Regions from separate parts of the Homo sapiens genome. Here regions 1, 2, 3, 4, 5 and 7 are each linked to region 6. The links are contacts of gene promoters, found by promoter capture Hi-C in blood cells and fetal thymus (Javierre and others, 2016). All regions are on one chromosome and are shown on one strand. Each heading gives the region's core, a stretch centred on a gene start or on the middle of the fragment in contact. The rest is flanking DNA. Distances are from core to core; before and after follow the strand shown.

Region 1 (3,761 bases), core at 309-2,808, 1.8 Mb after region 6:
TCCATCCCCTCACCTCCAAAACCACTTGCCTCTCTCCCAGGAAGAGGCCTGGGCTCTGGCATGGTCTCCCCCTCCCCAGTGGTTCCTATGCAAGTCCAGCAAGAGTAGGGTTGCTAGATTTAACAAATACAAATTCAGGGCACCCAGTTAAATTTGAATTTCACATAAACAGTGAATATGTTTTTTAGTATAAATATGTCTCATGCAATACTTGGGGAATAAAAAAATTATTCATTGTTTATCGAAAATTCAATTTTAACTGAGCATCCTGTACTTTATCTGAAGACCCTAAACATGAAGGACCTTAAAGAGATTCTGGTTCCTCTCATCATATCTGGACTCCACTGAAGCACCAAGTCATTGTGTGTGGCATCTGGCTTCTCCAGTGTCTGGCCAGAGGTGCTGCACAGCCCAGAAGTTAAGAGGACTTAATTCCACAGGGCAGTGAACATTGATGAATTAGAGCTGAGATACAGGAGAGATCTAGCAGACAATTTCCTCTCCTTTCTTCCTCCAACGGACTGTCCTGAGCCCTGGTGGTTACGTATGGTCTGGTTAAAGATATTAACCACCTGTGTTTTTCACTGAGTTGCGATCAGCTCAGTAATACACCCCTCTAGATTTGCTTCCTCTCCTTCTCTACCTTATCTCCCTTGCTCCCTCACATTTGCTGCCCTTGGATTGCACCTCCCAATAAACCGTTATTAAATGATAGGGCATTAAATAATACCAGAATCTTCCTCTTACATGCTCCAATAGCACCCCTTGCGTTATTACTCTGTATTTCAATTGACTTTTTGTTTGACTCTCTCCTCCAGTGAATGTAAGCTCTTTAATGACAGAGGACTGTGTCATTGGTTTATCATTCTCTTATTGGAATGTAGCAATGTTTGGTACATAGTTTGCTTATATTGAATGAATAAAGACGTGAATAAAACAGACAAATCTGACAGCATTTCTCAAACATTTCCCTGGAAAAGCAGGCCATGACTCATTGAGATGGAATACTCAAGCTTAAGTAACGTTATTATGAAATTTTTATTTGAATTTACTACAATATTTTTGAACAGTTACCCTGGGTCTAGTTTGTGCTATTTGTGTTTCTTACTATAAAAGAATTGGTTTTCTGGTCTGAAGTTATATCCTTGGCAAACGTGGGATGGTGTAAACTTGATGTCTTACATAATGAATCAATTACAAAGCCTAAAGACAGTGCTCCTCTATGCCAAAAGCTTTGGCCTTATTTACATCTGATCTGGTCTTCAAGGCTCTGGCCCTGCAAGGCTGAACCCATAGCCAGTTCCGTACCCACCTTGCTTCCCATCTTTGCCTGATATCTGCAGCTAATGAGTCTGTCCTAAAGGTACCTGGTCTTACCCCTCTCCCTGTTCCTAACCCTCCTACATAGATATAGAAGCTGGGTGGGGCAAAGGTTGGGAAGGAAGAAGAAACTCTCACAGAACCTGACTTGCCCCAATTGTAATAACACTTTCATTATGCCAACAGCAGGAGAAGGACTAAGTAGGGGAAAACTAGGAAAGAGAACCAGGTCAGCATAATGCAAATACAAGACAGGAGGCATTTATTTAAAATTTCTAGTTATTAGAGAGCCAAATAGGAGCTTTGCTAATTAGAACTAGGGTCCTCACTCCAGCTTTTCCTAGATCCTTGATAGGTCTTTCTCTCTTTTCTACTGGTCCTCTCTTCAAGTTAGATTTTTAATTTTTACCTTGAGAAATTAGGGCCTCATGGGACAGAAAAAGTAGCACAGGGCTAGAAACCTGGTAACTTTGATTCTATTCCTCATTCTCCCACTAACCTAAGGGTGACTTTAGACAAGTCACTTCCCCTCTCTGAGTCTCTGTTTCCCCATCTGTAAAATAAAAAAGCTTGTTGAGATTCTCTCCAGCATCTGAATGACACACAGTCTGTGATTCTGCAATCCAGTGATAACAAACTTCTTCAAAATTATGACCATGATGTTTTACTTGAAAAAAAAAAAGAATATCTTGTTGAATCCAGGTCATGGTGTGGAAATTTTTCCGTGTTTTGTTTCTGCTGATACTTCCCCTTTGTGACTTGCTTCCTTGTGTGGTTTGTAACTTATGAGTCTTGAGCTGCATTTCCACTGGGGTTGTTTGCTGTGGGAGGCTGGTTTGCTCCGGTTTATGGAACTGTCCCTCCAAGATAGTTTTAGCTTTGCCTCTGCTGAGGCCTACTCTATCAGTATATGAGGACTTAGATTCAATATACTGAATAAACTTATACTGAATATGCTGAGTATATGAGGCCTTATGCTGAACCAGTGTTTATGGTAATTTCTTGGTTTGGGAACAATGTGAACAAAAACGTCACACCTATGTGGTCATAAGCCTTCTTGACTCCCAAGACAGTTCCATCACCCCCTTGAACATTGTACACAGGACCAGCAGCCTGGATCCCCACCCACAGCCCTTAAAGCCCCAAGACTCTGCCATTAAGTCTACGTAAGGCCCAACAAGCTCCTTAGCTGCAGGGCTTCAACTCCCACTTACTGCTCTGATTTTGAGTTCTCTCTTTTTGGCCTTCAGGTATTTCCCTTTCTTGGTTTTGAGCTTGAATCTTTGTGTTTGAAGAAATGTGTCTATACCTGAGTATATGCAGGGCAGGGTTTCCATGCATCAGCTCACCCAGCCAAGTTCTCTTTTGTTATAATTATTTTGTAATTGTTAACTTTTTCTTAGATGTAACAGGTTGCCATGCATGTATTGTGGTTTCAGGGCTGTGGGAAACAAACTTTCCTGCTGTCACACCCCTGCCCTGAATAAAATAATACTTTCACAGAAGTCTAAAACCCTTTTTTTCTGAAAGTAACAACTTTCTTTCCATAGGGAGAGCTCAGGCTGCAAATGTAATTAATCTGCCTTCCCTCTCCCTGAACCGCTAGAATAAAGATGAAGAACTGCTATTTCACCAAGTGATGACAACACAACTTTTCCTGAGAGTCGGGAGAGGGCAAAAGAGCAGCTAGTGATTGCATCAGTGAAGTGGGGAGAGAAAAAGACAGAGAGAATTGAGGTCTGAGGGTGGAGAAAGGTCTGGAGACTAACTTCACTGGCAGTGGGATGTTAACAAGAGCCAGATCTCTGCAATGTTCTTCTCCTTTACTTTCATGGTGGGTGAGATAATATGAAGGAATTCTTCATAGAGAGGAAAGATTATGGTCAGGACATGAGGATTCAGGAGCAGTCGGTGTGAATCCTAGCTCTGCCACCATCTTGCAAATTGCTTCCTTTCTCTGGGCTTTCATTTTCTCACTTACAAAATTAGAGGATTATATTAAATTTGTGGATTATAAGCATTATTCAGCTGTAGAGCCTTTCTTTTCCCATGTAAGCTTACATGGAAACCAAAAATATAAAACATATGAAAGAAGAGCTCCCTCGGTTGAGCAGGAAGCAGGGCGCCAAAGCCCAGAAGTTCACTTCCTCCTCACCTCTCAGAGCAGGCCTGGGATCCCTGGAACACAATTTGAAAACTGCCAGTCCGTATATTCTCTTATGGTTTCTTCCATTTGAGGCATGATAATTATGATGAGAAGAAGTTTTCCAAGCCACAGGATTCATGGGATAGCTGAAGTAGCATGATTTCCTTGAAAACAGGAAATCAGAGTCGCCAAACAGTGGAGCAAGGGTTTTCAGACCGTACTGCATTCTTCCTTCTAGAACCTTTCACCTCCTCTTGGGTAAGTTGTCAACAAGCAACACCCAGCTGTTGTGTGA
Region 2 (3,602 bases), core at 828-3,327, 1.2 Mb after region 6:
ACCCCATGCAGTAATTTGATTTGCATTTCTTGACTGCAGAGAGAAAATATCTTATATCTACACTAATAAAATTTTGTTTTTGGCTTTGTTTTTCTAGATGTTGGAGAAGAGCATCAGTCTCCAGGTGGCATTAGGTAAAAAAAACATTAATATTTCATTTTTAAACCTTTGGGGACATAGCATAGTCACAGTAAATGATTCAGAAGTTGCTTCCATTTGAAATTATTTTGAGCTGTAAGAGAAATTAACTTCAGTTTTGATACTGCATTTAGATTCCATGTTGAGCTTGATTAGAACTTAAACCATGTAATCTACTTACATAGCTTAGAAATCATGTCTTGAGTATCTTCTGTGTTTGGACTTATTCCATGGTAGGCACTAATGTGAAATATGGGTGTTTTGGCCAAGGTTTTGAGATTTTATTGGAATCTTTTGTGTTGTGATTTATCTGTTAGTAGGTCTTTTAATATAGCAGATCACCAGACAGTATTACAAAGTCAGTTGTTTCTTAACTTTTAATGCCATTGAGTTGTCATCACCCTGTCTTTATCTAGGATTTATGTCTTTTTAGTTTCAATTATTATTCTTTGTGATAAAACAGCTAGATTTCAGTCCAATTAGGTCATTAGGATGAAAATGCTAGATGACTTTATCAGTGTTTGGCTACCTCTTAAAAAATTACCAAATAAAATCCCCTCAGACATGTTCGCTACAACCAGAATGTCTCATTTCTATTTACTTATTTTTAGTAGTGAAGAGGAAGAGGAGGAGGAAGAAGAGATGTTAATCAGTGAAGAGGAGATACCATTCAAAGATGATCCAAGAGATGAGACCTACAAACCCCACTTAGAAAGGCATGTCTCAGATTTTACTGCAGACATGTTAATGAAATATAAGTAGGAAAGCACTGTTGCATGCTTTTATTTTATCTGTTGCCAAGCTAATGGGTATAGAATTAATTTTAAATGAGTAATTAATTATGCACTTCTTTTGTAAGTCTAACACCTTAATATACCCTGATAATAATCCTCTTTCCCATTTGTAGAACTTTATTTTGATTATATACAAGTTTTTATGAGTCTGCATGTTTTATTTCAACAAGGTATCATGAATTGCCTGAATACTTAGAATTTTTTAACTAATTGTCTCGTTTCTCTTTACAATTATAGTGAAATTTGATTTACAGGCATCTTTAGTCTGGGGAGGGTTCATTCCATGAGCAACATATACATATATTTGGATCATTACTATGCATGTGAGGATGATTGGTAGGAAATCACATTTCATGAACTGAGGAAGGTAGTTTTATAACAAATCAGTGATAACTCTAAGCTTTAATTTGTTGTCATAGTCTTCCTTGAAAAGATCTTTTGTCTAGTATTGAAATGCATTTGTGTTTTCAGGGAAACCCCAAAGCCACGGAGAAAATCAGGGAAGGTAAAAGAAGAGAAGGAGAAGAAGGAAATTAAAGTGGAAGTAGAGGTGGAGGTGAAAGAAGAGGAGAATGAAATTAGAGAGGATGAGGAACCTCCAAGGAAGTGAGTAGGCAATTATTAAAAATGAAAATCTAACAGATTTTGAACGACTAGTGGAAAAAAGAGTGGGAGTGTGAGGAAGGATGTTGACGTATACATGCTTCAAAATATGTATTTTTTAACTTAAAAAAATTTGGCCTCAAGCAGCTGACAATTTCACTGGAGAGACTCTTAGTAAAAAAATGTTTAGGTTTTTCAGTTCTATTGCAAGGAGAAGGTATTTTTTAATCTTAGTGTTTTTAGATGATACATGGTAGCAACTCTAAAAGTAATACATTGAGATTCTTCTAAGTCTTTCATAGTATTGCATAGTTTATGGAAGGTATATATTTAATCTGTCTTACAGACTGATTTGAAAGTGAAATTACTTCAGGGTAAAATTACTTGCTTGATTTGCCAGATATATCTTTGACTTTATGTATTCTTGGTTATCCTTTGCCACTTGTTCTTTGGCCGTGTGTGTGTGTGTGTGTCTTCAGCCAGCCTTCACTGTGTAGTTTTGATTCAGAATATGTCTACTGTTACCCTGTCTTCAATTACAGGAGAGGAAGAAGACGAAAAGATGACAAAAGTCCACGTTTACCCAAAAGGAGGTGAGGAATTTTTACCCCTACTGTTTTACACCTTATTCCAGTACCAGGCACTTTACTCACAAATTTAGACTTCATGATAATCCTGCAGGAATGGCTATTTAAAAATTTCACAAAAGCAACTTCACTAATGTCCTAGATGCACAGGTGTTATGATCTTATTTTCATTGTAAGAGCTTGAAATTTCTAACAATCTTAATACTTTACCTTTGGGGGGTCATTAGTTTATTTGTGTTACTTTTTAATTCTGTCAAATATTTGCTAATTCTTGGTTACTTCTAATACAAATTCTGTGTAATCTGTATAGTAGTAAAGAGATTTTAATTCTTCCTACTATAAAATAGCTATTCCCAATAGCACAGTTTAAGTCAGAGGCCACTGTGCAGAGTACCACTTTTTTTTTTTTGCTAACTTTTCTTCTGCATTTTGATAATAGAAAAAAGCCTCCAATCCAGTATGTCCGTTGTGAGATGGAAGGATGTGGAACTGTCCTTGCCCATCCTCGCTATTTGCAGGTCAGTGAAGTTGTTATATAAGAGCCTTTCAGGTTGTGTTCCATTACTTGTTCTTGCACCACGAGACTTTAATTTGTTGGCTTGTGTAGGCTTTATCATTGACATGTAATGTCAAGAAAAGTCTTTCTTTAAACATAAAATGACTTTAACCCATTTATGCCTAGTGTTCCATTATTAGAATGCTAAGCTTGGGCAAGTTATTTATATCCTACTGTTCAAGGTCATCACCAAGGTCTGATTTTTCACAAAAATACATTTGCAACCTCCAGCATAAATGGGTTAATCATGATTAGTCCATTTGTGCTGCTATAATAGAGTACCTGAGACTGGGTAATTTACAAAGAACATATATTTATTTATTAGCTTGTGGTTCTGGAGACTGGAAAGTCCAAAAGCATGGTGCCCACATCTCACAAGAGCCTTTTAACTGTGTCAGCCCATGGTGGAAGGGCAAGAATGGGTTGAACTTGCTTTTGTAACAAATCTACTCCAATGATAATATCAACCCATTTATATAAGGGTAGAGCCTTTAAGACCTAAGCACCTCCCATTAGGTCCCGCCTTCCAACACTATCACATTGGGGATTAAGTTTCCAACACATGAACTGTGGTGAACACATCCAAATTCATAGCACCTCCTGTTTAAAAAGAGGTGACTAAGAATCTGAACCCACATAGAGAACTTTCGTTGGAATCTTTCAATATTACAGTAATTCCCAATGTGGTGTAAATACAGAGTAACATTTTATTTTAAAGTGATTTAGAAAAAAAGTAAAATTAGAACTCAAACCTGTGATTTCTTGGGTACTGTGTAGAATGAATAAAAGACTTTTAGTTGAGGTTTTGTTTTTATTTTTCTTGAGTAGATTATTATTATTATTTTTGATGAGTAAACGTACCACTTATATTTAGGTCTGGCAGGAAACGTGAAAGTGAAATACTGCTTAGGAAATACCTGTTTG
Region 3 (3,383 bases), core at 34-2,533, 1.1 Mb after region 6:
CCAAATAGAGAAGTTGATCCTCCTTAGATAAGAACCATAAATCAAATAAAATGGGTCAGAGCTAAGCCCCTTTAACTAAACAGGATGGTGCCTAGGAGGAGACTATAATGTTATTAAACTTGACATATGAAAAGAAATAACATGTGAATCTAAAAGATGGTTGGCTGGCAATTCATTTATTAATTGAACAAATATGTATTGAGGGCCTGTCATGTGCCAGGGCTGAGGATGTAGCAGTCAAAAAGCAAAAAAATCAAATAAAAACTGTAAGCCCTGAAGCTTACATTCTGGTGCTGTGAAACAAATAATAAAGAAATTGGTATGTAAAAGTAATATTCTGCATAGAGGATGGGAAGTGGGGAGAGACAGCAATTATAAATATACTGATCAGGGAAGGACTCACTGAGAAGAGAACGCTTGAGCAAGGACTTATATAGGAGGTGGGGAAAGAAAGCAAATATCTGGGGTCATATGATTCAGGTGGAAAGGCCAGCAGGAAAACCACCTGGAGCATCTGTGGAACCACGAGAAGGAGAGTGTGGCCTGAGCAGAGTGAACCAAGGACACAGGGACAGCAAGTAAAGGGGCCAGATCATACAGATGAGGTGGCCACATCACCAAACGTTCAGAATGGGGTATTTTTTAGAAAGAAAATGGGTTCCAAAAATAAGTCATATTGTATCATTTTTAAAATATGTGTTTATTGGCCAGGCATGGTGGCTCATGCCCGTAATCCCAGTACTTTGGGCAGCCGAGGCAGACGGGTCACGAGCTTGTATCATTTTTAAAATATGTGTTTATTGGACGGGCGTGGTGGCTCACGCCCGTAATCCCAGTACTTTGGGTGGCTGAGGCAGGCGGATCACGAGGTCAGGAGATCGAGATCATCACGGCTAACATGGTGAAACCCCATCTCTACTAAAACTATAAAAATTTAGCTGGGAGTGGTGTTGCGTGCCTGTAATCCCAGCTACTCAGGAGGCTGAGGCTTGGAGAATTGCTTGAACCCGGGAGGCAGAGATTGCAGTGAGCTGAGATCATGCCACTGCACTCCAGCCTGGGTGACAGAGCGAGACTCGGTCTCAAAAAAAAAAAAAATGTGTTTATTGACCTGAATTTGGTCTTATTATATTGGTGGACCTATAAGATAATTCTATCCAAAATTTATTTTCAAAATAAAAATTTCCTGAAATATCTTAAAGTGATAGTGATACAAAGTTATGAACATTCAAGCAACTTTAAAAAAATATTGGCCAGGCACAGTGGCTAACGCCTATCATCCCAGCACTTTGGGAGGCTGAGGCACGTGCATCATTTGAGGTCAGGAGAATTTGAGACCAGCCTGGTGTCATGTGACCAGACATGGTGAAACCCTGTCTCTACTAAAAATACAAAAAAATTTGCCAGGTATGGTGGTGGGTGCCTGTAGTCCCAGCTACTCGGGAGGCTGAGACAGGAGAATTGCTTGAACCCAGGAGGCGGAGGTTGCAGCGAGCCAAGATCATGCCACTGAACTCCAGCCTGGGCAACAGAGTGACACTCTGTCTCAACAACAACAAAAAATTGATTATCTGAACATTTTTAATGGTACAGACAATTATTCTTTATATGTATTCACATACCTTAATTGGTTATTTAGATATTATTGTCTCTAGCATTGGGATGTGGACATTTTTCAGGAACATGTGTTTTTTTTCGTTTTTTATTTAAACAGTTATTTTTTTATAAAACTGCAATCTTTTTCAAAACTTCATTTTATGGTTAATATATTTGAAATTATGGACAACTTTAATTGATGCTTCACTATATGTTTTTAACTGAGAACACATTTCCTCTCTAGATACTGATGAACCTGTAAGTTCTGCTAAATGAAGAATCTTCTCATTTTTTAGATTAAAATATGTAAATATTTCAGGCCAATATCGTCATAGGTGCTGTCTTTCTACCTTCATTCAAAGCACTTTTGCTCAATAATTTCTTACAAGATAAAACTTTCAAGTTGTCTATATCTGTGATTGTTTCAACATTTCACCAAATCTAGATACTGCAAAATCATAGACTTTCACAATTTTTCTCCATTTTGGTAGAGAATAAAAATTTATCCAAATAAAATTAGAAGTCAAAATACATCAAAGTCAAGATTTTTCTGAAGCACAATTGTCAAAATAGATAATTAAACCATATCTGCTTTCATCTTTTGATTTGTTCAACTCCTTCTTCGCTTTTGTAGGGAGAAATTTGAGCTTCTTCCTTTGCAAGCCTTATTTTACATAATTGTAACTTGCTAAAAGCTTCAAAAGCTGAATTTTCATGCTACATTCATTCAGTAATCGATTAAAAATTTCCAACTGGTCTTGAACATAATGCAATCTAAATTTGGGTTGCTTTACAAAGTGGTTTTTCAAAGGCTCAGGCATTCCCAAAATCCAATTGATGACATGCAACACAGACAGGAATATACATATAGTCATTCTGAAATGTTTCCTTGCATGGTAGTGTTCAATATCAGCTTCTGTCAGAAAAGTTTTGTAGATCAGTTACTTATAAAATCTGTGTGTGTGTGTGTGTGTGTGTATATATATATTTATAATTTATACATTTTGACAATTTTAGTTTCTGTTTTGACTGACAGAATACCGCAGCTTGTTTGAATGCAGTCACAAATTTTGTGCACATTACAACCAATTCCAAGTACATTTCTGCTTCATAGCTTGTTAACTTGGTAAGAACATTTTTAACACAATGCTGTGCTCTATTAACATTTGTATTCATATTCTTACAACAAAAACAACAGTTTACCTTCAATGTTGAGCTTTTCAACTAAATTTACAGTGGCATTAACAATGTCAGATGTTTCACTTTTTGACTAGGAAATAAATTTTCACATATTTTATTTTGATTGTTTGAATTAGATAAAAAACAAAATTGAAACATTTCAGAATTAATACATTTTTGAATTGAGACCTCTAAGGAAATTATTATAAAAAACATTATTTGAAGGTTTGCAAAGGAAAATCACTCATTAATTATTACCAGTTTACTTACAAGTACAAGAAAACTTGGAATTGAAAATGAGCAAAATTAATTTATGAGTTATTTGATACTAATGGGAAGGTGTGCTTCACAATGACATGTACATAGGCCTCCTGCAGCTGCCGTGTTGAAGTCATTTTAAGGCATATTCTTCTTAAATTATTAACTTTGGAAATAGATGCCAAAGCTGCTTCACCATATTTGTACCTTCTGGTTTTCAAAGGGATAGTGATCTTTCTACTTGCCTGCATGGTACATGGTAAATATTGAAAAATATTTTCTGCACGTTGCATATTCATTATCAGCTTTCTTGAGACAATTAAACATGTGGGTTTTGTTTTGAGCTAACT
Region 4 (3,415 bases), core at 904-3,403, 1.7 Mb after region 6:
CCAACACATAACTTATCATGCCATAAATGTTTTTAAAAGAAATATGATTAAAATTATACAAAACGACATAAAAATTTCAGAAAGAATATTGATAAATATCTTGGTACATAGTAGATTTAGTTGCACAGATATTAGGTGGTACAAGTTTTATATCTTCTATAATAATAACTTTTTATTATCTCCTTGTGCACTAATATTTCAATATGTCAAAGTCATTTGAATAACCTTTCTAGTAAATCTCAACTTCGTAGATTGAAAACTTTTTTAAAAGCTTTATTTAAGTTTAGTGGTACATGTGCAGGTCTGCTATATAGATAAACTCATGTCATGGGGGTTTGATGTACAGATTATTTCACCACCAAGGTATTAAGCCTAGTACCCATTAGTTGTTTTTCCCGATCCTCTCCCTTCTTCCATCCACCACCCTCCGATAGGCCCCAGCGTCTGTTGTTCCCCTCTGCGTGTCCATGTGTTCTCATCATTTAGCTCCCACGTATAAGTGATAATATGCAGTATTTGATTTCTGTTCCTGCATTAGTTTGCCAAGAATAATGGCCTCTAGCTCCATCCATGTCCCTGTACAGGACATGATCTCATTATTTTTTATGGCTGTGTAGTATTCAATGGTATACTGAGTTTTCTTTATCCAGCCTACCACTGATAGGCATTTAGGTTGATTCTTTGCTATTGTGAACAGCGCTGCAAGGAACATACGTGTTCGTGTGTCTTTATGAAAGAATGATTTATATTCCTTTGGGTACATACCCAGTCATGGGATTGCTGGGTTGAATGGTAGTTCTGTTTTTAAGTCTTTGAGGAATTGCCACACTGTTTTCCACAATGGTTGAACTAATTTACACTCCCACCTAGTATATAATCCTTCCTTTTGGAAACAAATTTTATCAGTATATTCAATTCTGAACACCCATGTTTTAGAAAATGTTAAGCCTATTGTCCTTTAATCACTATTTGCTTACACATTAAAATGTAAAACAGGCAAAAGAGAAAGAAGGAAGAAAGGAGGGAGGGAGGGAAGGAGAAAAGTGAGAAAGAAAGAAAGATAAAAGAAAAAAGAAAGAAGAAAGAAAGAAAGAGAAGAAATAAAGAGAAAAAAGAAAGGAAGAAAGGAAGGAAGGAATGAAGAAGAAAAGAAAAAAGAGAAAGAAAGAAGGAAAGAAAAAGAAAAAAAGAAAGAGAAAGAAAGAAAGAAAGAGAAAGAAAGAAAGAGAGAGAGAGAGAGAAAGAGAGAGAAAAGAAAATTTTCTCCAGATTAGAATTATTGGCTGCTATTGTTTGGATGCTGGGTACTAGCTGTGATTACCCTTTGTGAATGTAGGAATGCACAGATTCCAAAAGTGAGTCTCATAGAAAAAGTCAGCATTCAAATATGTTTTAAGGTTACTCTATCCAAACCCCAAAGAACCCACAGAAGATGAAGCAGTAATTTTAGCTTCTCTTGGTGTATTGTACATGCATTTAAGGCCAGTTCCTTCCTTCAAATTCCCATGTGTTTTGTAGTTACCAACACACCTTTCAACCCTATCTGTTTATATACATCATATAGTCCTCTGTCAATTGCATAAAAGTTGTCCCCTTTGTGACTGTAATCGCCTTTTCCAATACACATCTACTCAGAATGCAGGTCCTTAAACAGCAGGCTGCCTTGAAAACCCTCTCCAATCTTCTTCGATCATCAGCTTTGAGATGCATATTCCTAGAGCCCATATCATCTTCTTCATCACTATCATAAACGTCTCCACATATTGATGAACGTTTGGAGAATCGATTTATGACAAGGGAGTTTACTCTTCCTGCATCCGCGGCTTCTTCGTGATTTTGTCCTAGTCACCGGGCCTATCCCACCTGCTGGGGATGCCGCCCCCTCGGAAGTGCCTGAAATCTCCCCACTTACCCAACTAGCCTCAGCGCCTCCTGTGTGCTGCAGCAGATGGCGCGCTGCAGACCCCAGCCTGGTGCCTCCGCGACTCCTCCCCAACCATGATTTACAGGCGGGGACAGCCACATTCCTGCGCCCCAACTTCCACCTCCGCTTCCTGCGCGCGCGAGACTCAAGCTGCCACAGTGGCTCTGCCGCCAGCGTCCCAGCTCCTCCCACACCCGAGTTTTTATTTCCTGCTCCCTCTCCAGCCCGGCCCAGGCCAGCCTACCGGCGACTAGGATGCTTTCGCTTTCGCTCTCGCTTTCCAATACTCGGGACTGGGGAAACCGGGAGAATAGAAGCAGGCAAGGACCGCCGTGGGCACGGGGTCAGTGAGACAGGGTCCTGCTCGCGGCGTCAAGGAGGAGCGCTGTGGGTGGGTAGGGTAGGCGCGCCCCCTCGGCCTTGCCTTTCCAACCACTCTTTTTTGCACGCCAACAGGTGTCCCCAGCGCAGCCAATCGGCTTCCGAAGTAGGTGAGTTGCTGCCTGAAGAGAAAAGACAAACTCCAGTATCTTTCATTCCATTGGCCAGACGCGCCATTCCCCAAGTGAGTTCTGTTCTCCAACCAAAGTGCTGGATTCCAAGGGACTGGAAGGGAAAGTCCCTAAAAATCACGAGTTCAGGCGTCTGAGACTTGGTGGGAACGGACCTTCCTCTTAGGTGAGTTACTCTTTGGTTCTGGGGCTGACCTGGAGTTTTGCCAGGATTCATTGGCCGCAGCAGGATGCTGGTGGGGACAGGGTAAATAAAATCTGCACTCCTGCGGGCTTTTATTGTTGAAAGGGGCACTGACGCTCTCCCTGGAAACTTAAAAAGAACAGCCAAGTGAACGGATGTGTCTTTCTTTTGCAGTGCCCAAGCCTGTTCTAATTTTTAAAAACTGATGTCTATTAAGACCCAATGTTAACTTTATGAAAATGGTTCCTAAGGAGATTCACATCTCTGTGTCCGAATTCTGTGTGCAGCAAACATCATCTCAAGTGCGTTTTCCCAACTACGCTTCTTTCCAGGATAAAATACTCTAAGTGACAAATGTTGAGTACATTATCAGGTATGTTCACTATTGTGAGAACTGAAGCCATCTACACTCACATAGCTTGCCAACTACATTAACCTGACTTCTTATTCCATTATTTTCATCAACATACATTTACTATTTCAAGAAACTTTTGCCAGGGACCGGAAAGTTGCAAATATCTTTATTGCTTAATCCAGTATCTTCTTCAAAGATCCAACCACTCTTCAATGGAAAACATCAAAGAACAGTTTACATTCTAAGACTTTGAACCTTTACCTCAAAATCCTAGCCTTGTTTTATCTACCAATCCTAAACTTTTACCCGTAGCTGACTCAATTCTAACCAATTCCCCTCATTAAATATTAGACTTACAATGGGACTTCAAAATCTCAATACATATAGCCCAAACTTGCTCTTCCCTCTCTGAGACACCACTTAAATTCTGTCAAGTTATT
Region 5 (3,340 bases), core at 356-2,855, 1.2 Mb after region 6:
CTCTCAAATCAGTCTCTTGTATCCCATTCATCTTGGCCTCTTGTCAACTTGCAACCTCAATATAACATTGACTGTTTTTACTTCCTTTACAGATGTGTCTGTTTTATAGTATACTTTTTTGTTGGTTTTTCTTTCTTTCTAGTATATTTAAAGAATATTTTTATTATTTCTAAAAATACAGAAGACACATTTTTATGCTTTTTTTCCCATTCCAGTGAGAAAAATCTAACTTGTAATTCTTACCATTTGAGTTTGTGTACAAAAGGAAGAATCGAGAAGATACTGAGAACATTGTCTTCACAATTCTTTCTTGAAAGATTTTGAATCTCCTTGCTAATGACCTAGTTTTCCCAGTCAAAATAAAATCTTTTAGGTTTTGAATAGAAAAAGAGTTCTGGAAGGAAAATCTGTAGGTGAGAAAGGGCGTGTATAAGCCCAGTCTTAACACTCAGATAGGCTTTTAAGGTTTTTTTTGTTTGTTTTTGAGACAGGGTCTCATTTTATTGCCCAGGCTGGAGTGCAGTGGTGTGATCATGGCCCACTGCAGTGTTGATCTCCTGGGCTCAAGCCATCCTCCTGCCTCAGCTTCCCAAGTAGCTGGGACTACAGAAGTGTGCCGCCATTTCCAGCTAATTGTTTTTGATTTTTTTGTAGAGACAGGGTCTCACTGTGTTGCCTAGCCTGGTCTGGCTAGGCAGTCCTCTTGCCTCGGCCTCCCAAAGTGCTGGAATTTATAGGCATAAGCCACTACACCCAGCCTGTTAGTTTTAACTGAAATATTCCCCTTTACCAATTAAATGATACTGTTCTAAATTTAAATGTAAGTTAAAAACAACAACAACAACAAAAGCCTCTTTCCCTGGCTTCTCTTAATACTACTGAGATTGGCTAATATTTCAAAGCAAACTTTAATTATTTATGGAAAACAAAGTGCAGCTAGTGATAGAAATACACAGAGTAGTTCAGTTAGGTTTCAGAAACTCAAGTTTCTGACAATATAATGTTCAAGCCTCAAAGGCTAAATACAGTAGATAGACATTTTTGTTTGTCCTTCCTTCCTAATCTTTTATCTTAAGGTAGCAGTAACTGTATTATTTCTCTTAGTATGAGAATAATTTACTCAGACATCTTGTTCCATGTTGGGTATGGCCCAGATCCTTTAATCCGTATTGCTAGTTCAGACATCCAAACCTCCTTTGGTTCTTTTCCATTATTAATTTCCTACAAATAAAGATATATGTCACTTATAATATGTGAATTGTGATGTAGGCTTAAAAAGCCTTGATCATCAGCTTATTTCAGTTATGGGATTACCTATCAGGTAAATGAGTCTTAACTTTATAATAATTTGCCTATTACAGCTCAACTTATTGCCATCTTCGACACAGTTATAAGTTTATTCTGCTATATATATTATTTTACATTGAGATCCCTTTTCCTGCCAAGACCACTTGAGAGTTAAAGCAGAATGCCCTGATAGAAGAAAACTGAAGCAGAGGAAACTTAAAATCCTTAGTGGGGAAAGCCATATTCAGCCAGTACAAATCCAAAACCTTTAAGAGAGACTTGCTTGTATCTTCATTTTGAAATGAGCCTTAGTGGATAAGAATCTGTGACAAAAAGTAATATTGCCCCTTGACTGTTAAGTTCAAGAAAGAAGAAATTCCTCTGAATTAAAACCAGCCTGAATAATCTAATGCTATCCGGGCAAAGGCTTCTTTAGCTTCATAACAAACCATCTAAAAATTTAGTGGCTTAAAACACAGCAATTTATTATTTACTGGTTGGGCCATTCCCCCCTCCTCATTGGTCATTCAGTTCAGACTTGTTTTATATTATGGTGGTTGTGGCGCAGTGTTCCAAAATCCTGAAGGCAGTAACTGCAAGGTGTCTTGAAACCACCCCCACAGTATAATCAATCAGTTGTATTTCTGTATATCAGCAACAAAAAATAGAAAATCGAAGTCATAAAATCAAAATAAAATTTATATTAGTATTTACAACCCTATAAGCAAGATATACTGCTCCATTTACTTAGGTTTTTAATTTTACTCAGCAATGTTTTGTACTTTTCAGTGTATAGGTCTTTCAAATTTTTTATCCCATATATCCCTGAGTATTTCATATTTTTTGATGCTGTTAGCTTAGCTTAATTGGGATTCCCACTGTGTTTAAGAGTGGGATTGATTCTTTAAGAAAGAAGAGGTGCCTAGATGCTTTGTGGATATCCAGTCATGGCTACTGTACATTTATATTCTATTATTTAACCGTTACCTAACTGAAGGGCATTTGATATTTCTGGGTTTTTTTTTTTTCCTGAGATTACAGGTGATTTTTAGAGAAATCCTATTAAAATGTACCATACGTATACAGAAATGCACATATTATAAGACATATACATGTACTCTTGTTTCTCCTCCCCCTTCTTTATTTTATAAGTGGGTGGACCCAGGGTGAGCCCAATCATGTAACCATTTACACAACTGAAGAAATAAAACATAATTGTTTTGGAAACTCCCTTATGCTCCTTCAAGTCAACCGCCCCCAAGTGTAACCACTATTTTGACTTTAGCAGAAATTAGATTTGCCAATTTTTGAATTTTACATAAATGGGATAATACAGTAGGCACTCTTTTGTGTCTCGCTTATTTTGCTCATCATTTGTGACAAATGCTGTGTTTGTCATAGATCGTTTATTTTAGTTGTTGTATAGTGTCCCATTGTGGGAATATAACCACAGTTTAACTGTTTTACTGTTGATGGATGTTTGGGCAGTTTTCAGTTATTAGTCTTTATGACTAGTACTGTGATGTATATTTTTGAAATATAGTGTTATTGGGATGTAATTTATACATCATAAAATTCACCCATTTCAAATGTACAATTTAGGGATCTTGGTACATTGTATGAATTGCACACCTATCACAATACAGTTTTAGAACTTTTTCTTCACCCTAATAATGTCCTTCATGCCTGTTTATAGTTAATCCGTATTCTCACCCCCAACCCTAGGCAACCATTAATCTACTTTCTGTCTGTATAGATTTGTTTTTTTTCTGGACATTTTGTGTAAATGGACTCAGACATACAATTTGTGTTTGTATATAGGAAGCATTATGCAATGTATGTAGGAAGCATTATGCAGGCAAGACAAATTTGTATCTAGAGTCTATTCCAGTAACAACAAAGCACTGCCACTTCCATGATGGAAGTGGTCCAATGTAGCGAACCTTGCACCAGGTGAGCTGGATGATCACCCCAGGGAATGGTGCCATATCAGGGACTCGGTGTTGGTCTCTGCTGCTGGCATATTAGGCAATTAGCAGTGGCTGTAGCCAGG
Region 6 (3,736 bases), core at 560-3,059:
AGAGCAGGGAACGAGGTAAGGAAATGGAAGTGGGGCTGTGGTGAAGTGGGCAAGTCTAGAGAGAGTCCCGCTGCCTGGGGCTGTTCCTAACAGCTGCTGGGAGCGAGCTGCAGGTGTGGTGCCTGGCAGGGTGGCCGGGCTGTCTGACTCTGGATTTCACTCCAAGCTAGGCTGCTGCCTGAAGGATTCCTCTTACCCACCTTTGCCTGGGCTGGCCTTTGGGACTTACATGGCTATGAGGCGTGCCACGGTGGTCTTGAACCGGTCAAAGATGTAGCCAGTGGGGAATGTCATGAAGTTGTTCATGAAGGACCCCAGGGTGAAGATGAGTGAGAACCTCTCATCCTGGGCTTTGCAGTCTGGAGTAGAAAAAAGGTCTCCCATGCATCCCAGCCTTCCTGCCAAATGAGCACACAGGCTGGGCTCCCCTCCACCTCAGACAGCTTGTCGGTCGCAAACTTGTCCCTTAAGCTGAGTTGAAATGTGGCTGCCCCTAATTACCCCTCAGGAGCTGGTGCCTCCCTCCCAGGCACTTCCCAGATCAAGTGGGGTGAGAGCTGCTGACCCTTCCTCTCATCATAGAAAGAGGGGTGGGCAGGGGGCAGAGTCCTTCCTGCTCCTTGCCACCACGTGGGAGCCAGACTTAACTTCCTTAGAAAAGTCATCCCTGCCCTTACCAGCCTGCCCTGTGGCATTGCCAATCGGCCCAGCATCTGGTCCACACAGATCCTTAAAGTAATCTTCATTCTTGAAGACAAACACTAGTGAAGGCCAGCCAAAGAGGACGCCAGCAAAGCCCAGGCATTCCAGCAGCCCAGTCAGCAGTGTGGCCACGTGCAGGGGCAGGCCCTGGCCCGCCATGAGCAGAAGTGGAGTGGATCTTCAAATCCCACTTTGTCCTCCTGGACGGATCACAGGCGCCGTAAGCCTGGCGTTTGAGCACTTGGAAAATTCCTCTGGCAAGCCAAGCCCTTCCTTTCCCGTAGCTCTCTGGTTGTTTCAGGCCTGGGCAAAAACCATCAGCGGGTGATTCTCTGGATCCTGTAGAATAAAGATAGAGGCTGCTGGAAGAGGAGGCCTGCGGGAAAGGGAAAGGTAGACTAGAGTTATTTGTGAGGTGCATTAAGAGGCAGGATGATCATGGCCGCTGGCAGCAAATGTGGGGAATAAATACTCCAATACATCATCTTAGGCACTGCATTTGAGTAACCACGTGGCAAGTAGAGAGGCAGGTCTTGATGGCCACCTGGAGTCACAGGTGAGATAAACGACTTACCCAATAGCTCCCCGGGAGCAGGTGGAGAAGCGGAGCTCCTGCGCTCGAATTCTGAATACCGTCCCCTAAAATAATGACAGCAACTCAACCAGGTGCAGAGGCAGGGAGATTTCATACAGAAGACACAAACTCCCGCTGCCAAGTTGGTGTTATCTTCAGTTTACTGACAATGAAACAAAAGCTCCCATGGATTTCAGGAACTTGCCCAAGGTCACAGGGCTAGTTTAGTCACGACGCAGGCCATTCTACTGCCAGAAATACCCCCAACTCCCATGACCCTCGCCTAGGACTCGCAAACCTGGTCCCCGCCGCCCTTCCTCGCATCAACTTCTACCAGGAAAGCCTCCGGGGGCCGCTCCCCGCCAGCCTCCGCACCCCGCTCCAGCCTGCGGCCTGCCCTCCCCGCAGAGGAGCCCGAGGGGCCAGGCCGCGCTCGGCGCCCCATGGCGCCCGAAAGGGGACCCTTCGCCCTACCCGCCTGCTCCGCGCCGGGGCTCTCCGCGCCCTTTCCGCACGGGCCAGGTTCGCATTCGCGCCTCTCGCAGCCCCTCCCAGTCCCCTGCTCGCCTCCGCCCCCTCCTGCCCGCCCGGAAGGGGCTGGGGCAGACCTCCCACTCTCCATCACTTCCTTCTTCTTTTCCCTTGCTCACAGCCTCCCGCGCCCTTTTTACCTCTCCCTCTTGAAACTTCTCCCTCTAGAACCCCCTAGAACCCCAGCGGTGTCTTTCCCTCCCTCCTCGCTGCCTTTCAGCCTCCCAGCCCCCTTGCCTCTGCCTCCCCTAACCAAGTTAGTTGAATGCTGTTACTCGCTCAGGCCCACCTAGGGAAAATGTCACACCCAGCACCCAGAGGACACACAGACAGCACATGAGGGCATAGGGACACACACACTCTATTTGTGCATTTTGCCTTGACCGCTGGGTTGGCAGGGAACATATTTTTCCTATTTGCTCACCAGCTTAACCGTCTCTCCCAGTTTCACACTCCCAGAGCTGCCAAAAAAATCCCAACCACAGAATCAGGAAGCCAAGAACCAGGACTGAGGGCTTTTCAGAAACCATCCCCTGGAGGACTGCCCCATATTTTCACTCCCAAAAACCCCTTAGATGACTCCCTGCCTCACCCCCGCCCCCCAGGTTCTGAAAGAGCCTTCCCGCCAGACTGCATTGATTAACCATTCATTGCCCCATTTTTTATTAATCAAAGACATATATAATTGCTCATCGGAGCTTGTGATCAGCGTGAGGCCTTACTAAGCAGCTGCCTTACTATCCTTCCAGCCCAGAGCACGTGAGCTGACGTCTTCTTTGGCCTGTGTGGCCGTTTCCTTGCCAAAAGCTCAGTTTGGGGAGAGCTTCTTGCGTATTAGATGCAGTCTGCAGACTCCCAACCCCAGCTACCTGGATCCCCTGAGGGCCCAGGAACTCCAGCTATTCCAAGCCCACTCCTCTTTTTTTTAAGAGGAAGAAATAGAGGTTACGATAGGGGACAGCCAGAACTGAGGATTTTCCAGCTCACCACCAAAGCACAAAAGATAAAAGTCTGCAACCACCCTAGTGACTTGACTGAATGGAGGAAGGGTGGCTGGGGTCCTGTACCCCAAGCTACTCACTAGTTATACAACCTGAGGCAAGCTCTTTGGCTGCCCCACCTGTAAGACGAGGACAATAGTACCTTAATTATAGGAATTGTCATAAAAGAAGTATAAGATGGGTGTATGAGGTCCCTGCATGGCGCAGGTGCTATAGGCAGATTGTAGGGTAGTAGATTTTCTAGTCTGCAGTTATGTAGACAGAGCCAGAGAAGCAGCTCTGGGGAGGAATTTCAAAGGAACTTGCCCACGGTCATTCTACAAAGCTGCAGTACCTTCCCAACTCTGAAACGTATGCTCTCATCACCCCGTCTTAACAAACATTTGGACATTAGAGAAAACAAGTCTTTTCTTAAAATAACATTATTTATGGGAGAAAATCCACAAAAATATAGCATCCCAGGACAAACAGGGCTTAAGATGCAAGATTTTCTATTTTACTGCAAGACACAAAGACTCTGAAATTAATGCATGCCCTATCTTCTGCTCTGGCATACATTTTAGTCTCCTGGGGGGATCAGTAAGTGTGGAAGTAGCAAGGGAGAAACAGAAAAAAGTCAAAGTAAAGAGACAGATTTTAGAATGTTAATCTGCAGGAGCCTGCCAGAAAGATCTAGCTCATGGGCTATCTGTACATCCAGGACTGAAGCACGGGACACGGGGCAGGTCGTCCAGGGTTCTGTCCACCTTATCTTGTTACCTCTCTTGACTCTTAGAGCCTCCACTCCACATCTCCCATCAATGTCTGCAGAAGACGTGGCCTCCACTAACACAAGTCTTACTGAACTGATGGGACAGGAAATTAGAATATCCTCTGAACCATTCCCATGTTCTTTGGTTCGAATTCCAGCAGCTAGAAAAGGCAGATG
Region 7 (3,638 bases), core at 128-2,627, 1.2 Mb after region 6:
ATGGTTACACATGCTACCACCTCCCCCTTTGCCTTCTCTGTTGTTTACTATTTTTTGGTCAACTTGCCTAGAATATTTTGAGGCAGTGAAAACTAAGTTTTATTCATCTTTGTATTTATGATAGCACTTACAATGGACAAAAATGGGGCTCAAAACGGGTTTATGAATGAAATAATAATACACTTAAGAATCCAAGAGGGGCAGGTCATTTAAAAGAATCCAATAGCTGGTTCCTATCACCTGAGGCTTCATAAGACCTCTTTCTGGTTTTCTCTCATTCATTCAGCTAACTTTTAGAGCACATACCTCTAAAATTTACAGCACCTATCTCAGAGTTCTGTCTGATGCTCTGAGGCTGAGCCCTGGCAGTAACTACAATAAGGACAACACCAACCCTCCCCACACTAAAAGAGCTCTTAGTCAAATTGGAAAAAGAACTCATGCCAAGTGACATGCTCATATAAACATACTGCTAAGGTTGGGTGGTCGTCAAGAGGAGTAAGAGATGCTTTCTTCCTGGGAGATTGAAGGAGTATGTGTGTGTGAGAAGGAGGGGCAGGTAAAGACATATTCTCAAGGGAGCTGACATCTGAACCCAGTCTTGATTAATGAGTTAGACTTCATCAGGCAAAGGCACAGCCAGGAATCACCATGACACATCAGGGGATCAGTGTGTGGAACATATTGGGAGTGTGTCATGGGAGGGGGAATCTGAAGGCTAGCTAGAGATCAGGATGACAAGGGAGGTCAGGGCCCAATGACAAACAGTCATATCAAGGTGGATGTCATACGTTCCAGTTTATGAGCATTGTCCCATATAATTAAAACACCTTTTTTTTTTTTTGGTTTCAACCGGAGTTCAGATTTGGATGATAAATTATATGACTACTCTACTTATAAGATAATCCATTCTCTCTTCTCTCCCACCTTTCTTTTTAAACCTCAGGCCAAAACCTATTCTGCCTTGGCCCCCACCTCACCTTTCTCAGTCAGGGAGCTCAGTTTCCGGAGCCTGGGGATATTTTCAAAGAAATGAACTGAGGCCATCATAATGGAGCTTCCAGTTGCTGTTGAAAGGATTCTCCCAGGCCAGCAGAATTGAACAAATCTATGTGTGTCTGGCTGAGGCCAGAAGGAGTCTGGTGCTCCTGCTCCCAGCCCTGGATCAAACTCTGTTTCTTTCTGGGAAGTCCTTCTTTTCTTTCTCACATCTAATCTTCAAGATGCAGCAGAAATTCCATCCTCTTCCAGAAGCCTTATCAGACATCTCTCAGAATTTGTATCCCTCCTTCATTTTCCCATAGAAAATGTTTGAAGCTGTATCACATTTCACAATGAGTAATTTATATATTAGGTGTATCTGCCCCACTCAACCATGAGCCCTGGTTGGACATCTTTATGTTCTTCATGGTACATAGAACTCTGCCACTCACGTCCTCACATCACCATCAGAATGATCATCATGGTCAATTCCACATCATGACAGCTCAAGGTGACAGGCCAGGTACTATGGGGAAGGGTTTCCTTGCAGTATCTCATTTAATCATCACAGTAATTTTATGACATCAATTTTAATATTATCCCAACTTTAGAGAAGAGATTAATTCCCAGAGTGGTGGGACAATTTGCCCAGGGTCACTGAGCCAGTAAGCAGCAGTGCTGGGACTTGAGCCTCGGTCTGTGTGATCTGACTCTGGGATCTCAATCCTAAAGCAGCAGCAAATCGTCATAGATATGAACTTTCACATTTAGAAAGGCCAGAGAGTGTTCCAAAGTGCTTTGCTTCCATTAGCTCATTTAATCCTCTCAAGTAACCTAGGAATTTGACACACTAACTCCATTTTAAAGAGGACCAAGCTGAGGCACAAAAAACTTGCCAGTGACGAGTATTTGCCTCCACGTGGGTGAGGACATGCTTGCCATACCTGAGCACAAGCATCTCTGCCAGGTACTTGGCCTCCTGGGTCTGGGTGGTTCTCCAGGTGGTTGCTGAGGGTCCGCACATGCTGCGAGAAGCAGGGCTGAATATCAGGGGTTTCTGGGACCTTCAGAGAGTAGATGCTGTGGTGGACCTGCACTCTGGCTGTGACCTACAACCTGATGGAACCCCGGGTTGTACGCCTTGACGTTCTGGCACTTGGCTGAGAACTTACCATTAAGGCTGGGGAGGAAGCGGAGCTTAGCACTGATGGAGCCGCCCAGGCTTTGGTGTAGTTGAGCCAGTGGTCAACAAGCTCTGCCTGGGTTTCTATGACCCTATCCCTCCTGGCACCATGTGCACATGGTCTGGAAAGAGGTGGTTACTTGCTGCAATGCCAGCCCGAGCTCTGCATTACTTAGGTTTTTCTAGCCGCTGTCCAGCAGTTCCCCCTGCACGGACATGTTCAGTGCCTGCTTGCAGCCTTGAAACCCCAGCATCCTCGCAGGCCTCATCATTGGAACCCTCTAGGGGCTCCTCCTTTTTCTGAGACTAGCTACTGCTCTAAATGAGCCTCTGAAATATGTGCTTTATAATCTCATTTACCCTCTCACCATTCTACTTTTGCACATTTGCAAACTAAGACCCACAGAAGTCAGGTAAAATGCCTAAGGTCACAGTACACAACAGAGCTAGCATCTGAATCCAGGTTCTTTGATGCCAAAGCACAATTTCCATTCACTGATCTATGTGTGGTGTTTCTCCTTTCTATTCAGTATCAGTGTCTTGATTTTTTATCCCTCTTAGGGCATTTGCAATTAAAGAAGGCTCACGGAAAGGAGCATGGGATTGCTCCTGGTTCCAGCTGGTTCTAACAGTGTGCTTGGAGCAGAAGTCTTTTCTCTCCACCCTGTATGGGGAGAGGCAGCACTGGCCAGAGGAATGGGTGCTTCTCAAGACCTGAATTGAAATCTGGGTTTTGTCATTTCATCAGCTGAGCCCTCCCACTCTCACGGCTTTCTTCCCTGAGTCCCACTTCCTTCATCTGTTACAGAATGAGAACAATAATAACCTCTTCAAGCTTGAGCTGTTGGATATAAAATGCCCAGCAGAGTGCCTGGCACAAAATAAGGTGTTCTTTTAGGGAAGTGGGTTAAATGGCTTGTTCAAGGTCTGGGTTTGCATCCAGGTTTGTCTGAATCCAAAGCCTAGTGCTCTTTCAATGTAATGCTTCTTTCCAATCTCTATGTTTGCATTCTTTTATTAAAAAGTGTGATTGATTTATCATAAGGGAACCTGGGACTGGATTATTTGCTGGAGAGATGGCTGTCTTCTGGGAAACAAATCTTTTTTCCCTCTTGTTTCTTCCCAGGACAGGGATAAGTAATCATGCTGCTCAGTCCCCTAGCCTCCTGACCTGGGAACAAGTGCTTCATGGCATTATAAATTCAAAGGAGTCTGGGAATTCAGCATGTTTGGTTATATCTCTTTCCCAGAACCTGGCACCAGTCTGTGGGCATTTCATAGCTGTAGATACAAGTGAAAATAATCATGCTTTGGCTGAATGGTGGTGAATCATTTGCTGACAAGGACAAGATACCAACAGGAGGAGGGCAAGGAAAACTCTCTGAGGATGTTTTGTTTTCAGCCCTGGGCAGCATTTGCTGAGCTGGGAGATTAGGAGGCATCATTTGGTGCCCAGTACTCACATCCCCCAATT

Evidence for each region. The method cuts DNA at HindIII sites, captures the fragments that hold promoters and counts their contacts. A CHiCAGO score of 5 or more calls a contact.
Region 1: a contact is called between a fragment that was not itself captured here and the fragment with the promoter of SLC43A3 in region 6, in 1 of 17 cell types (M0 macrophages). The highest score is 5.4, in M0 macrophages.
Region 2: a contact is called between a fragment that was not itself captured here and the fragment with the promoter of SLC43A3 in region 6, in 1 of 17 cell types (neutrophils). The highest score is 6.0, in neutrophils.
Region 3: a fragment that was not itself captured here is called in contact with the fragment with the promoter of SLC43A3 in region 6 in 6 of 17 cell types (monocytes, total CD4 T cells, activated CD4 T cells and 3 more); the score reaches 8.5 in monocytes.
Region 4: the fragment with the promoter of FAM111A here is called in contact with the fragment with the promoter of SLC43A3 in region 6 in 2 of 17 cell types (non-activated CD4 T cells and naive CD8 T cells); the score reaches 9.2 in non-activated CD4 T cells.
Region 5: a fragment that was not itself captured here is called in contact with the fragment with the promoter of SLC43A3 in region 6 in 3 of 17 cell types (erythroblasts, monocytes and activated CD4 T cells); the score reaches 10.0 in erythroblasts.
Region 7: a fragment that was not itself captured here is called in contact with the fragment with the promoter of SLC43A3 in region 6 in 2 of 17 cell types (naive CD8 T cells and M0 macrophages); the score reaches 5.7 in naive CD8 T cells.

What each region holds. Positions count from the first base shown.
Region 1 is chr11:59,220,804-59,224,564 of GRCh38, forward strand. No RefSeq gene overlaps it. Among named protein-coding and RNA genes, the nearest start is that of MPEG1, 9.8 kb to the left of the region's middle. The HindIII fragment of the contact is 657 bases long and covers 1,231-1,887 here.
Region 2 is chr11:58,610,201-58,613,802 of GRCh38, forward strand. It overlaps ZFP91 (ZFP91 zinc finger protein, atypical E3 ubiquitin ligase), which reads left to right. Exons shown (of 11, transcript NM_053023.5): 4 at 98-134; 5 at 750-854; 6 at 1,404-1,538; 7 at 2,078-2,128; 8 at 2,562-2,640. ZFP91-CNTF (ZFP91-CNTF readthrough (NMD candidate)) reads left to right here. Exons shown (of 13, transcript NR_024091.1): 4 at 98-134; 5 at 750-854; 6 at 1,404-1,538; 7 at 2,078-2,128; 8 at 2,562-2,640. Among named protein-coding and RNA genes, the nearest start is that of CNTF, 11 kb to the right of the region's middle. The HindIII fragment of the contact is 1,495 bases long and covers 1,331-2,825 here.
Region 3 is chr11:58,564,450-58,567,832 of GRCh38, forward strand. The region is part of intron 2 of LPXN (leupaxin); the gene reads right to left. Among named protein-coding and RNA genes, the nearest start is that of LPXN, 9.7 kb to the right of the region's middle. The HindIII fragment of the contact is 2,012 bases long and covers 278-2,289 here.
Region 4 is chr11:59,140,703-59,144,117 of GRCh38, forward strand. FAM111A (FAM111 trypsin like peptidase A) reads left to right here and starts at 2,154. Exons shown (of 6, transcript NM_001312909.2): 1 at 2,154-2,244; 2 at 2,381-2,602; 3 at 2,795-2,993. FAM111A-DT (FAM111A divergent transcript) reads right to left here and starts at 2,106. Exons shown (of 4, transcript NR_110184.1): 1 at 1,913-2,106. It also overlaps the pseudogene LOC100422399. RefSeq lists an enhancer at 1,922-2,371. The HindIII fragment of the contact is 3,476 bases long and covers 270-3,415 here.
Region 5 is chr11:58,588,606-58,591,945 of GRCh38, forward strand. The region is part of intron 2 of ZFP91 (ZFP91 zinc finger protein, atypical E3 ubiquitin ligase); the gene reads left to right. The region is part of intron 2 of ZFP91-CNTF (ZFP91-CNTF readthrough (NMD candidate)); the gene reads left to right. Among named protein-coding and RNA genes, the nearest start is that of ZFP91-CNTF, 11 kb to the left of the region's middle. The HindIII fragment of the contact is 5,379 bases long and covers 1-3,340 here.
Region 6 is chr11:57,425,312-57,429,047 of GRCh38, forward strand. SLC43A3 (solute carrier family 43 member 3) reads right to left here and starts at 1,810. Exons shown (of 14, transcript NM_199329.3): 1 at 1,751-1,810; 2 at 1,277-1,341; 3 at 678-1,041; 4 at 230-359. The coding sequence starts at 861. RefSeq lists enhancers at 1-534, 227-1,426, 535-1,327 and a silencer at 1,570-1,929. The HindIII fragment of the contact is 9,438 bases long and covers 1-3,736 here.
Region 7 is chr11:58,636,947-58,640,584 of GRCh38, forward strand. No RefSeq gene overlaps it. Among named protein-coding and RNA genes, the nearest start is that of CNTF, 16 kb to the left of the region's middle. The HindIII fragment of the contact is 3,239 bases long and covers 1-2,997 here.